3 separate regions of the Homo sapiens genome follow, and all the other regions are linked to region 2. Evidence: promoter capture Hi-C in human tissues and cell types (Jung and others, 2019). All regions are on one chromosome and are shown on one strand. The core of a region is centred on a gene start or on the middle of the fragment in contact, and the rest is flanking DNA. Distances in the headings are between cores, read along the strand shown.

Region 1 (2,800 bases), core at 242-2,741, 250 kb after region 2:
AGAGTGGGTCAGTGTTGGGTTGTGGCTGGGTCAGGACACAGGTCCATCAGTGGAGTCCTCCTCATCCTCTCCTGACGAAAGCAGTCCAGAGATGTGTGTTTGGAAGGGTTGATGGGCTCAGGTCCTCGGGTTAAGGCAAACCTCCTGGCTCGGTCCGACTGTCCATCCATCAAAGCCATTGCCTGTCCTAACCCAAAGGAACAAGGGCCCAAAGTAAGAGAGCTTGGCTTTAGGAACAGCCACATGAGCTAGCACCCTTCTCTCACCCAGTGTGTTCTCTGAGGTGAGAGAGTGATCTCATTTAAGGACCCTGCTGATGTCCCTCACCTCCCGCACCTTCCCTCCTTCCTGGTGAGTACATACACCCCAAGACCCCATCACTGAGCTTCCCTGCTGGGAACCTAAAGAACACCAATCAGCCTGGACATTGTGAGGGCCTTCCCCCCATCTGTGGCTTCTCATCTTTCCCCCTAGCCAAATGTTGGCTCCCCCACATGCATGCTACCTCCAAACACCCCAGGTCTCTGTAGGATTTCCAGAACCTAGCACAGTGGCTAGTGCATAGTTGGTGGGCACCAAATAAGTATTTCCTGAATAAATGAATAAATGAATAAATGAATAAATGAATACACATAGTCTAGTCTGCAAATCAGAGCCAGACTCTTTTCTGGTCATCTCTCAATCCTGTACTACCCCACCCCAATCCTCCTCAAGCCCAGGTCCCCACTCTCCTCCATGAGTCCCTGGAGCTCTGAGGTATTCCACACTCCCCGCTCCTGATCCCATCAGCAATGACACCTGGAACTCTGAAGCATAGCCCTGGCACTGTCCTGAACTCTCTGAATCAGTTTCTTCCATGTCCCAGATGGTGTCCCTGCACTAGGAATACCCAAAGTGCAAAGAACATGCCCTCCTCCCACCCCAAATCTCTACCCCCACTCCCATCCTTGACCAGGCTCTGAGCAGGAATAGGATAGGAGCGGCCAATCTTGACAATGAGGAAAGGAACCCGCCTTTGAGAAAAAGACAGGAAAGCCTACAGCAAGAGGTTGTCTCAGAGGCAGCCCCCTCCTTGGGACAGGCCAGCCACTCCACCCCAGGGCTTGGCCATGGGTCCAGGGCCCATAGCCTAGCTCTGCCCCTTTCAGAACAGGGTTCAGAGAGCAGGCTTTACCCCAGGTCACTGCACCCATTCCCCTCGCTTGGACCGCAGAATGCAACTAATGCTTTCAGGAACCCCTCTCCCCGCTCCACAGCAGTGCCAGTGGGAGGGGCAGGAGCAAGGAGGAAGCTTATAAAGGGCTTTGAAGATGAAACAGGGCCCGTGGCCAGGGATTGTTGATGCAGCCACACTGAAGAGGCAAGCAGGGTTCTAGCTTAAGAGGCCAGGGTGATGCCAAGCCAATAAAATTCAGCTATTGTCTCTTTGCTCCCTCTTTTAACACCAGCTGCCCCTGGCACATAAAAGGGCCTGCCATCAGCCAGGGAGCACAGGCCCTTGGTTCCATCCTCTGCCATCTACTCCACTGTTCAGACACCTCCTAACCTCCGTCATGACCTGTGGCTTCAACTCCATAGGCTGTGGGTTCCGCCCTGGAAACTTCAGCTGTGTCTCTGCCTGCGGGCCCCGGCCAAGCCGCTGCTGCATCACCGCCGCCCCCTACCGCGGCATCTCCTGCTACCGCGGCCTCACCGGGGGCTTTGGCAGCCACAGCGTGTGCGGGGGCTTCCGCGCCGGCTCCTGCGGACGCAGCTTCGGCTACCGCTCCGGGGGCGTGTGCGGACCCAGCCCCCCATGCATCACCACCGTGTCGGTCAACGAGAGCCTCCTCACGCCCCTCAACCTGGAGATAGACCCCAACGCGCAGTGCGTGAAGCAGGAGGAGAAGGAGCAGATCAAGTCCCTCAACAGCAGATTCGCGGCCTTCATCGACAAGGTGGGTGTCGTCCTGGATCACACCCTTCCTGAACCCCTACTCATGTTCAGAACTCAGGCTGGGCACTGACAGGGAAGTCAAAGGCAAGAACTTGCCCACAGAAGTTCCCAGGCCAAAGGGAAAGGTAGTCATACTTCTAGGACACAGACAGAAAGACAAAAATGGGACCGGGAGCTACCAGACTGATGGGGGAGATTAACTGAAAACACAAAAGCAGAACGAGGGGCAGAGCCTTCCACACTGAGTGATAATATCACCTAGTGAGCAAAGGACCACTGTGTGGGCGCTCAGGGCATTTGAAGCCAAATAACTGCTTAAATGCCAAGGAGATGCTGTCTCCATCAAGGCAGGGCTAATAAGTGTGGTGCTGGAAAACTGTCTGGAAGTGGGTCTCGTGGATGGCACAGAACTCTTTCTATACCACACAGTGATTTGGCCACTGAGCAGGGTCTAGAGTATTTTGTCCAAGCCACTGTTCCTGGGGCTCAGGATCCAGGGGTGAGCAAGAGTCATGGTCCCCATCCTCACAGGCTTTATGGGGAGGCAGGCAGTGCACAGTCTGGGTTTGGTTGAAACCATCTGTGTAGTCAGTGTCCAACTAGAGTTTGCAGCCACCTTCTCCACTGAATCCAGGCAACCACCATGTGGCAGTGATGTGAGAGACTGGGAGAAAAGGCTCTGACTAGGAACATGTTCTGGGGTTGGAAAGAGCCCTCCAGAGCCAAAACCTCAAGAGAGGAGTCACACTAGAGAGATGCCCACCAGAAAGGATCGGGAAAAAAAAATGTGGAATTTCTAATAGCATGAGAGACCAAGGATAGCATAAGATAGGACCTACCAAGGGTGTGGCCAAGTTATTAGAC
Region 2 (2,700 bases), core at 119-2,618:
AGTGTTCTCAGTTTAGTTATAGGAAGTGGTCAGAGTCTTGCATGAGGGCAGCTGCCAGATACCTAGCTTTGAAATAATTTTTTTTGTTTTTTGGAGACAGAGTCTTGCTCTGTTGCCCAGGCTGGAGTGCAGTGGCACAATCTAGGCTCACTGCAACCTCTGCCTCCCAGGTTCAAGTGATTCTTCTACTTCAGTCTTTTGAGTAGCTGCGACTACAGGCATGCACCACTGCGCTCGGCTGATTTTTGTATTTTTAGTAGAGGCGGGGTTTCACCATGTTAGCCAGGCTGGACTCAAACTCCTGACCTCAGGCAATCTGCCCTCCTTGGCCTCCCAAAGTGCTGGGATTACAGGTGTGAGCCACCATGCCCAGCCCTGAAATAATTTTTTAACATTGCACTGTACCCACACTACCTGAGCTATAAAGCAGTGATACTTCCTGTTTGAAAATTGAGTGCTCCCTGAAGTTGCCAGGAAACTGGCAGAACAGCCCACCCTGAACCTGGGAGTGAAACTCAGGGGGTCCTGTTCCTTGGTGACTTCAGCCATAGGGTGTTTCCCCAGGGAGTGCAGGGGCTAATATCCCAGCTCCTGCCTGACTTCCTAGAGTAGGACAAATAATCTTATCCAGGAGAGAAAATCCAACTGGAGGAAATGCAGCTGACTGGAAAGGTTCTCATGGTTGTAAGGCAATGTCAAGGTCACCACCACCCAGGCCCTGCCCAACACAGAAGGCCCTAGACAATATCCCTGCTAGGGGGGCATGCAGATGCTGCAGAGTCATTCCTCTTCCTTCCTGGGGTCCACTTCACTGCTAGACAGCTGTGGTCCTTAGCATGGCCCAAGGACGGACCCTGGAGCTTCTTACCCAGATCCAGATCTTTGAGGACATCTTTCCAAGAAGAATCATCTTTCCATGTCTTCTTTTCCCTGAGGTAAAAATTCCAGCTTCCACACAAGACCCTATAATAGAGAGATGGTTTCTTTTGGGAAGAAACCTGGGGTTTTTCAGGTGAGTCTACTCTGGGGAAAGCCAGGCATTTCCCCTGCTCCTTGCTGATGGTTAAGCAAGAAGGAGGTAGCACTGGAAAAATAAAGCTAGGAGATCTCTTCAGGGGATAACTCTTCAGGTCCTTAATTAGGGAGCACAGATAAACTCCAAATTAGACCACTCCACTCTGCAAGGGCAGCATATTCCACTTGCTATCAGAAGAGCTTTGTTGCTGCAAAGGGCTTGGAGATCTCTGTTCTACAAATTGCCCATGGCCCCTGGCCCATCAGCAGGGGAAAGGAGATAGTGGAGAGACGCCCTTTTCCGGTGTCCTGGGCTCAACAGGGATAAAAGGAGGCAGCACTCTGGGTGCCCCATCAGTGTGTTCTCTACCCCTTGGAGACTGCTTTTCTCCAGCTCTGTCAACTCAACCTTTCCCACCATGAGTCGGCAACTGAACATCAAGTCCAGTGGTGACAAGGGCAACTTCAGTGTGCATTCGGCAGTGGTGCCAAGGAAGGCTGTGGGTAGCCTGGCTTCTTACTGTGCAGCTGGCAGAGGGGCTGGCGCTGGCTTTGGCAGTCGGAGCCTCTATAGCCTTGGAGGGAATCGGCGTATTTCTTTCAATGTGGCTGGTGGCGGCGTTCGGGCTGGAGGTTACGGCTTCAGGCCTGGCTCTGGGTATGGAGGGGGCCGGGCCAGTGGCTTTGCTGGCAGTATGTTTGGCAGTGTGGCCCTGGGGCCTGCATGTTTGTCTGTGTGCCCACCTGGGGGCATCCACCAGGTCACTGTCAACAAGAGCCTCTTGGCCCCCCTCAACGTGGAGCTGGACCCTGAGATCCAGAAGGTGCGCGCCCAGGAGCGGGAACAGATCAAGGTGCTGAACGACAAGTTCGCCTCCTTCATTGACAAGGTGGGTCTCATAGGAGGAGGATGAGGCCGCACCCTGAGGCCTGAGCAGTTTTCCTGCTGCCTGGGAATGGACTGCACACTGTGGCTGGAAAGGTGCAGCTGGGCCTCAGGAAGGGCTTCCTCACCATTAGGGAAGGAGAGTAGGTCTGTGAGCCACGGAGGACAAAGGAATACATGAATATATCGGCTTCTTTGGCGATTTTGCAGGGAAGGATGGGAAGCTGGGTAAAGAGCAGCCCTTCCTTGACAAAAAAGTGATGAGTTTCTTGAGGACAGCTGGATCTTCCAAGAACATGAAAGGCTAATAGAATCCAGCAGTGTTCAGAGGGAAGGGCTCATGGTACAGGAAGAGACACTTAGTTGAGACATAAGGAAGGACATCTCCTGGGACCAGGGCCGAGCAATAGAAGAAAGCTGTGGAAACTCCTTGAGTGAGTTCTCAGTGATGCCTTGTCCAGAAGGCTAGGAAATGAGCACTTGTAAAGGATCTAGTTTGTGTGGAATGGCAAGGGTGGAGAGTCAAGACATGAGCAAAAATGACTACAACAATCTATGGCAAACCTGGGGAGTCAATGGTGTGTGTCCAGGGGGCATGACTGCACCCATTGTGGTTCCAGGTGTCTGTTGATTTGGGTTCCAGGTACGCTTCCTAGAGCAGCAGAACCAGGTTCTAGAAACCAAGTGGGAGCTGCTGCAGCAGCTGGACCTGAACAACTGCAAGAAGAACCTGGAGCCCATCCTTGAGGGCTACATCAGCAACCTGCGGAAGCAGCTGGAGACACTGTCTGGGGACAGGG
Region 3 (2,867 bases), core at 203-2,702, 150 kb after region 2:
CTTTGTCTGGAATGTTCTCCCCCACAACTGGTCACTTAGGTCCCTCCTTCTCATCCTTCAGACCACAGTTCAAGCATCTCCATCTCTGGAGAGACTTCTCTGACCACCACTTCCCACTTCCAAATCTAGGTCAGATTCCTTCATTACACTCTCCCAGGACCCTGTTCATTTCCTAAGGGCACTTATCTTAGTGTGGAACTATACATTTGATAATATGCTAATTCAGTTAATGTCTATGTCCCCCAATAAACTGTAAGCTTCAGGGGGAATGAGTGAATGACCAGGAATGAATGAGCCTGCTTGTGGCACCCAGGGTGGGTCTGTGTGCACAGCGAGTGCCTGGGCCAGGCATTTGACTCAGTGACTGGGTTTGCTCTGGTTCTCTCAGTACGAGGAGCTGCAGGTCACCGCAGGCAGACATGGGGATGACCTTCGAAACACCAAACAAGAGATCTCTGAAATGAACCGCATGATCCAGAGGCTGAGAGCTGAGATTGACAGCGTCAAGAAGCAGGTAAAGATTTGGCAGGGCCAAGAGCTCCTCAAATGCTCATTTCTTCTGGGCCTTTCTGCCATCTTTAAGAACTCCTCCCCAAGAAGCACCACACCTCCATGGGCTGTCAGCAGGACTCATGGCTTCCTCCTGTCCTTACAGTGTTCCAGCTTGCAAACGGCCATTGCTGATGCAGAGCAGCGGGGAGAACTGGCTCTCAAGGATGCACGGGCCAAGCTGGTGGACCTTGAGGAGGCCCTGCAGAAGGCCAAGCAGGACATGGCTCGGCTCCTGCGTGAGTACCAGGAGCTGATGAACATCAAGCTGGCCCTGGACGTGGAGATCGCCACCTACCGCAAGCTGCTGGAAGGCGAGGAGTGCAGGTGAGGCAGATGCACCAACTTCATCCTCAAAGCAAGTTGAGCTCACCTCAGCTTCCTGGGCATTCCTAGGGGCTCGGGCTGTTGCAGCCCCTTCTTCTCCTGGAAGAAAATGCAGTTCAGAATTGGGCTATGGCAAAAAAATAATTTTAATTTCCTTCCAGGCTAGTAAATCATTTGAGGTGCAACTACAGTTAGCATCCCCATAGAAACCTAAAACCTGATCAGGTCTAAGTAACTGAATTCTACCAAAGGAGACATTTGGTTACATGGCAGCTCTCGAAATGTGGTCTAAAAGGCCATGGGCTGAGAACAAACAGTCCTAGGATTTGGGCTTACAGATCTAACACTAAGTAGCTACATAACCTTGGGAAAGTCAGTCTCCCTTCTCTGGCCCTCAATTTCTTCAATGATAAAATGAAAAGGTCAGATTACATGATCCGCAAAGCTTCATGGGAGCTTTGTGCTCTGCCAGTTAGGAGCTGTGTAGCCAAGAGCAGATACTTAACCTCTCCACCTCTCAGTGTTCTCATCCAATAAAATGTGAATAACAATAGTTCTAAACTCTCACATTATTAAAAGGGTTAAAATAAGGGAATACACACAAAGCTCTTAGAACAATGCATGGTACACAGCGTGTTCGATAAATGTTAGCTATCATTCAGTTTCATGGCCAAAGACATAGGCTTTGGTGTCAGATGAATCTGTCTTCAAGTCCAGCTTTGCGACTATGGGCAAGTTAGTTAACTTGTCTGAGCTTCCATTTCTCCCTCTATAAAAGTGAGCAAATAATACCTACCTCATGGGGTTGTTGAGAGAACTAAGTGGTGTGATATAAGTAACAGGTAATCAACAGCTGTTACCTCTTGTTAAGTTTCTCAGTATGTGTTTATGAATGAATGCCAGTTCTGTCCTGAAGATGCTAAAGCAAAGTTACTTGGTTGCTAAGATAATAATAAACTGATATTACTATTGTTATTTTTATGACTCAGACGCCTCTCCACACCTATATACAATAAGCTCAGCCCTGGCTCAGTGCATGACAATGGTCCCTTGTTGAGAGACAAATCTTATTATAGGACAGGCCCTTCTTTCCAGTTGATGCCAGTATATGATTACTTTTAATTTCCTTAAGGCATCTAACTAGTTTAAACCAAAAATTGTATTTCTGAGATTATAGATTTTGCTCCTGTGAACCTCAAACTCCACCTTATTTTATTCATTAGATTATTAATATTATCTTTAATACTACTAGTTCTCAAATAATTTCAACCTGCATTACTTCTGCAATAAAAATAATAAAGTATGTTTAAATGCTTTGTCAACAATTACAAAAGTGTCATTGCAAAGGCCCTTAAGCTGCTGGCCACATTGGTAACCTTCCTTCTCCCTGCTCTTCCCAATCAGGTTGAGTGGAGAGGGAGTTTCTCCAGTTAACATTTGTGAGTATGACATACTTCTTGGGCCATTTGGAGTGTGTGTGGTAGAGGGGATGGGGATGTGGTGGGCTTGCCAGAGGGTGAAGATATGACGGGTTAGACGGGATCTCACAGACAGCGTTCATTTGGAGAAGGTTTGAGGTTTTGGGTCCCTTAAAAAGCAAGCCATATTAGGAGTCTTTAATGTCACAGTTCTTTCCTCTTTGAGAGTGAGGGTGTCACAGAAGGGGTGATGAGAGGTTTGATGTCATTGTTCTGAGTGGGTTTAAAAGATCCTGGCCACATCTCCTACCTCCCAGAATTCCCTGCCTTTTTGTTGGGGCTGCAAGCCTAGCACAGAGGTGAGCACTTGATGTAGACGGGATTTATGAAAATTCCTGGTCTGGCTTGGACCTTTGAAGGGAGCCTTCATGCTGTGGACAAGAGCATTGCCAACTAGGCAGCTTCTCTCCTAAACAGTTTGAGAAGAAGCTCCACTGCTTGGCTCAACTCTGCCGAGTATAACTGCAGAAGGATGCCAAGGGTTTTCAAGGCAGTAAGGGCAGCATAAAATAT

The links. Contacts are between HindIII fragments. The study calls those that stand out against the background at their distance.
Region 1: the fragment with the promoter of KRT83 here is called in contact with the fragment with the promoter of KRT74 in region 2 in 2 of the 25 tissues and cell types used here (H1 embryonic stem cells and bladder).
Region 3: a fragment that was not itself captured here is called in contact with the fragment with the promoter of KRT74 in region 2 in 5 of the 25 tissues and cell types used here (bladder, dorsolateral prefrontal cortex, heart right ventricle and 2 more).

The regions. Positions count from the first base shown.
Region 1 is chr12:52,320,089-52,322,888 of GRCh38, reverse strand. KRT83 (keratin 83) reads left to right here and starts at 1,491. Exons shown (of 9, transcript NM_002282.3): 1 at 1,491-1,937. The coding sequence starts at 1,554. The HindIII fragment of the contact is 13,306 bases long and covers 1-2,800 here.
Region 2 is chr12:52,572,511-52,575,210 of GRCh38, reverse strand. KRT74 (keratin 74) reads left to right here and starts at 1,368. Exons shown (of 9, transcript NM_175053.4): 1 at 1,368-1,904; 2 at 2,544-2,700. The coding sequence starts at 1,434. The HindIII fragment of the contact is 9,071 bases long and covers 1-2,700 here.
Region 3 is chr12:52,426,265-52,429,131 of GRCh38, reverse strand. KRT75 (keratin 75) reads left to right here. Exons shown (of 9, transcript NM_004693.3): 6 at 389-514; 7 at 656-876; 8 at 2,281-2,315. Among named protein-coding and RNA genes, the nearest start is that of KRT75, 6.7 kb to the left of the region's middle. The HindIII fragment of the contact is 7,225 bases long and covers 1-2,867 here.